Linked DNA regions of Homo sapiens: region 1 is linked to region 2. Evidence: promoter capture Hi-C in 16 types of primary human blood cells and fetal thymus (Javierre and others, 2016). All regions are on one chromosome and are shown on one strand. The core of a region is centred on a gene start or on the middle of the fragment in contact, and the rest is flanking DNA. Distances in the headings are between cores, read along the strand shown.

What was found. Contacts are between HindIII fragments. The CHiCAGO score rates a contact against its expected background, and 5 or more counts as called.
Region 1: a fragment that was not itself captured here is called in contact with the fragment with the promoter of C6orf62 in region 2 in 1 of 17 cell types (M0 macrophages); the score reaches 6.5 in M0 macrophages.

What each region holds. Positions count from the first base shown.
Region 1 is chr6:10,523,318-10,526,017 of GRCh38, forward strand. The region is part of intron 1 of GCNT2 (glucosaminyl (N-acetyl) transferase 2 (I blood group)); the gene reads left to right. Among named protein-coding and RNA genes, the nearest start is that of GCNT2, 3.3 kb to the left of the region's middle. The HindIII fragment of the contact is 3,884 bases long and covers 1-2,700 here.
Region 2 is chr6:24,717,829-24,720,528 of GRCh38, forward strand. C6orf62 (chromosome 6 open reading frame 62) reads right to left here and starts at 1,326. Exons shown (of 5, transcript NM_030939.5): 1 at 712-1,326. The coding sequence starts at 840. RefSeq lists an enhancer at 2,007-2,700 and a silencer at 2,370-2,539. The HindIII fragment of the contact is 3,349 bases long and covers 482-2,700 here.

The DNA of each region.
Region 1 (2,700 bases), core at 44-2,543, about 14 Mb before region 2:
CGGGAGGCTGAGGCAGGAGAATTGCTTAAACCCGGGAGGCAGAGGCTTCAGTGAGCCGGGATGGCGTCATTACACTGCAGACGGGGCAACAAGAGCGAAACTCCGTCTCAAAAGAAAAAAAAAAAAAAAAAGACCAGCTTTCTCTTATAGTTTCCTATTACTTTTTTTCCCAGCTATTTTTTGTTAAACGATCACAACCCACTTCATTTCCCCCTCGTAGCCTCTTCTTCCCCACAGCTTTCCATCCAGGTCTGGAATTAGCTCTGACTTCTCTAGAAGCCCTGAGCTGAGCACGTTAGGTGCCCTACCTCCAGAATCCTCCCAGCATGGCCTGGAGATTGCTGTTGTCTTGACTCTAGACTTGAAAAACCAAGGCCGGGCGCTGTGGCTCATGCCTGTAATCCCAGCACTTTGGGAGGCCGGGGTGGGCGGATCACGAGGTCAGGAGATCGAGACCATCCTGGCTAACACGGTGAAACCCCGTCTCTATTAAAAATACAAAAAAATTAGCCGGGCTTGGTGGTGGGCGCCTGTAGTCCCAGCTACTCGGGAGGCTGAGGCAGGAGAATGGCCTGAACCCGGGAGGCGGAGCTTGCAGTGAGCCGAGATCGCGCCACTGCACTCCAGCCTGGGTGACAGAGCGAGACTCTGTCTCAAAAAAAAAAAAAAAAAAAAACCAAGACTAAGAGGTGTGGTGATCTGGCTAGGAAGGAAGCCACAGTTGGGAGTTGGAGGCTCTAAGTAACAGCAGAGCCCCTTACAGCCTGCGAGATCCATGCTGGATCTTGGTTTGTTTTTCAACAAACGGGTGTTGTTTTCTCAAATTCACTCCAAGAGGAAGCTGTGATTATAAATCAAATGACTTATTCAACGGCTCCAAGCCTGTTAAGAGTGGCCTTGGTCCACGGAAACTTTCTGACACATAATCCAGGGCTTTTTTTTTTTTTTTTTAGACGGAGTTTCGCTCTTGTTGCCTGGGCTGGAGTGCGATGGCACGATCTCGGCTCACCGCAACCTTCGCCTCCCGGGGTTCAAGCGATTCTCCTGCCTCAGCCTCCTGAGTAGCTGGAATTAACAGGCATGCGCCACCACGCCCGGCTAATTTTGTATTTTCAGTAGAGACAGGGTTTCTCCATGTTGGTCAGGCTGGTCTCTAACTCAATCCAGGGCTCTTTTTAACCATACTATTTAAGCCCTGTTGCTGGAAGCCTGTGGTTATAACCTATGCTTAAAAAGAAATAGTGATGAGGATAAAGCAGGGTACCGAACTTGTCAAGAGAAAACACATAAATAAGAAAGAGCAGGCAGAGAGGAGGACAGGAAAAGGTTGTCTTTTTGAAAAAGGACAAAATGATACAAAAATTAGCCAGGCATGGTGGTGCATACCTGTAAGCCCAGCTACTTGGGAGGCTGAGGCAGGAGAATCACTTGAACCTGGGAGGCCGAGGTTGCAATGAGCTGAGATTGTGCCGTTGCACTCCAGCCTGAGTCACAAAAGCAAAACTCTGTCCCCCACCCCCCAAAAAAAAGAAAAGGAAAGAAAGAAAAGAAAAAGGACAAAATGTGTTGCCCTTCAGATTAAAAACCAGTTTAATCCAAGCTGTTCTTCCTCTGAGACTGCATCAGGCTTTCACAGACACTGAGAAAGTTTCCATCGGCCCACCCCCCCGGTTTCTAATTTGGGCACACAGGTGATGTCATGGTAAAATGAATATGTGAAAAGTGCTTTGGGCATCATATGGTCCATGAATAATTAAGGTGAGGATGATGGGATTCTTGTCTGTAGAAAGGAACCCCTTTTTTTCTGCTTCTCTTTCTACAGTCAGTTATTGAGATTAAACTCTAAGTGCAGTGTCTTAGTGCAATGAAAATTAGTTTACATCCTGGAGAGTGAGAATTTATAAGAGTATGTGTTATGGAGAAATAAGCAATTAGTGATTGAACATAATATACACCCTGCCAGTTATTGAGCAACCAAACTATAAGTCTTTGCTGGTTCCCAATTTGTTCAGAACTCTTTATTTATCCCACCTGATCAGTGCCTCCGACTTAGAATTGGGGGGTATTAATTTTGATCTGAAATTCAACCTGGGATGAACAATCTCGCGTCCTTTTGGTCACTCCCTGATTACCATCTCCTCCCATTATATCACACAAACGCAAGAGCCTAGAGCCCAGAATTGAGGAGAGTGATTACTGATAGATTGTACAAGGGCATTGGGAAAGCTGGAGGGTCTGGAAGACCAGCGTGTCCCATGTGCCTACCAAAATAAAATGCACCAGCTGGCACTGGGTTGATGAAAAAGGAAATAGGTTCATATTAATTCTTTTTTTAAATGTCTAGCATTGTCAAAGATACTATTTTACAGAATCATAAATATTCCAGAGCTCAAAATCAAGGGACCGTCTTAGCATTACAGGTAAGGTACAAGTAAAGACGTATGAACTTTGCTTGTACTTGCAGCAGAGCACAAAATACAAGTGTTCGTTACCCTGCAACTAAATCCAGTGAGTTGTAAATTCGAAGAGCAGGCAAATAATTCAAGATGCTTCTATGTCTGCAATGTCTGGAGGGATAGAACTAGGCCAAGAATGAGGTAAGAGTCAAACAAACACCTGATGTAATTGTCTGGATAAATTAGGAGAAAATATGGTAAAAATTACTTGACTAGTTTAGATAAGCATAATTCAGCATTGACA
Region 2 (2,700 bases), core at 76-2,575:
TTAAGTTGCAAAAAATACTGCTCTTATCATCCCATCCTTGACTACTCACAACTTACTGTTTGCTATTTAACTGCGGAACTAATTCTGATTAAGACCTCCACCGCCCCTAAAAATGAAACTTCCTCTAGGTCATTTTGAGTTTTTAAAAACTGTACTTCTATACAAGGCAAAATGAACTCTAAGTAAAAAAGAAAATCACACTTCTAAACACAAATTAACCATTTCAGTATTTAATTGCTCCTAAAAGGTGTATTCTACTTCATTAAATGTAAGAGAAAAGGTTACCTACATTACGCAGTTTAAGAAACAGGATAAACTTTAGCATATAAACAGTCTGATTACAATTTCACACTTTCAACCATCTTATTTATACTCTACATTAGATAATCTTTAAATTCCATCATAAGGTTTCCCATGTTAACTCCATATAAAATTTTGTAATCTTGCCCACCCCATGTCAACTCAGTGTATACTACTACTAAGCTTCAGACTCAAATTTATTTCCAAACCAAAGAACGCTCAAGGGTCTTTTCGCATGCTGCAACTGCTCAATTCACAGAATCACCCCTAAGGGTGAAAAAACAGAGCATACAAAGCAGACTTTTTTTCAACCACTCTTTAACCTAATATTCATAATAATTTAAGAGTAACAAATAATATACACTTACAAAAATTACTTGTGCTAATTCACCATTAAGAACTTTAAATTACCTTCTCCTTGAATACAAAGGCAATATACATCTTGAAGTCAAACTGGTCAGCTAGAGATTCTTTTTTCTTTCTAAGCTGAGCACGTAGTCTGTTCAGAGCTTGTTTCTTCCGGGAGTTTGGGTCCCCCATTTTGAAATACAGGTGGTACTAAAGCCTTTGGAAATTGTCACTAAACTATGGGCACTTTTTCTTAAGACTCAAGTACAACAGAAACAAGTCATTTTTTTTCCTGCTAATATGATTGATTAGCGAAAATCACGACTATAACCCAAAAACTGCACCTTCTGTCAATATTAGCAGACTGTCATATTACAGGGTCAAGAAACAAAAGCTGCTGTCCAGTCATGTTTGGACAATAACGTTTGGGGTCAGACGGGAAAAAGGGAGGAAAGAAAGGAAAGAAAGAGGAGAAAATAACTAACTTTCTGGAAAACACATTTGGCTTAACTGCCAAAATAAAGGCTTTGCGGAGAAATGAAAAGCCTATAATCAGGATTTAGGTGTGCAATAAAACACAGCTGACACCAGACCAATCCCTAAAATCCATCCGGATTTTCCCCCCTTTTTAGAAAAGGGATTAAGGAACAGGGAGGGGGAAGTGTGATCCTTGCTTTCCAAAAAAAAAAAAAAAAAAAACTCACCAAAACCAAAACCAAAACCAAACACCAAAACAGGGTAGGTGAATGAAACTGAAATATCCAATTAGATTTTACCCAGCCAGCTCCATGGCTGTAGTACCTAATTCTTAGTTATTTCAGATTTCACTATTGCTATGTATTGTCAGTGCTTGTTATTGATTACACTTGGTGGTGAGCATAGAGAAAAGTGCAAAATCGGTAGAGAAGGAAAGGGAGAGGTACAGGGTTTCCCTGCAATCAACTACAGTGTATACCGGGGGCGGGCAGCTGTGGCCCAAAGGAGCCATGAGAAAAAACAGCGGAGTCATTACCAACTTCCCCATCACCCACATTTTCACCCTCAGGCGGCTGCTAACGCTGCTGCCAAGGAGAATCATGACGGCAGAAGGAAAAGGGGTATATAATACGGTATTAATTATTCCGGCTCTGTGGTTAGACCTGATTAATGCCCGGGTTCCCAACACCCCCAGCCTGCAACTAGTCCTACATTCCCCAAGGGAGACTTCCCTGTGGATCTGCCCCCGTTCAAAATGGTGGGGAGTGCGATTTATCTTCTTGTGAGCATTGCCGAGGCAAAGGTGGCGGGTTCTTCTCCCAAATCCCAGGCGGTGCCCGGAGACCACCTGCCTTCCACCCCCGCAGGTCCCACCCCCACCCCTTGCCTTCAGCGGCAGCGACTCACTCGCACCACGGGAGACACAGGATCACTCAGGTTTTCACTCATTTCATCGTGGAAACAATTCCCGCCCGGGTGGAGTGGGCGGGAGAGGGTAAATGGGAAGGTTCAGTGGGGGAAAAAAAGAAAATAATTGTGTTAATATTACTTCTAAAGTAAGCCCACCCACCCTCCCCCCAAAAAATTAAGTTCCCGGATTAGCTCTCTCTCACGTTGAACAGACCATGTTTCCAGAGTTTGGATTGTTTAGGGTGGGGTCGTTAGTTGTTTCCCGAGGGGCAGGGGGTGGAATTGAGGCAGCTAGGGCGGGGTGGGTGACGGGGAAATCCCCTCCCTGTCCCCGCGGAGCCCGGGACTCACGGACCGACTCTAGGGCGGGGTTTGGGCCCTCTAGCCGCAGCCTGCGGGCGGAGCGGTGGCGGCGGCGGAAGAGGCGGCGGCGGCGGGGGCGCTGCTGGTAGCACGGGCAGGAGCCATGTCAAGAGAAAACCACCAGCCAACTGAGCCCCTCCATCCCCGCTGCAGTGCGCACCGTGACTGGACCGCCCGCGCTGCTGCCGCCGCTCAGCCCCCACCTGGGACCCATAGTCTGGCTCGGCGCCCTGGGCGGCAACGGAGGGGAAGGACGCGGAGACAGCGGCAACAGGGAGAGAAAAAGAAAAAGAGGAAAAACAA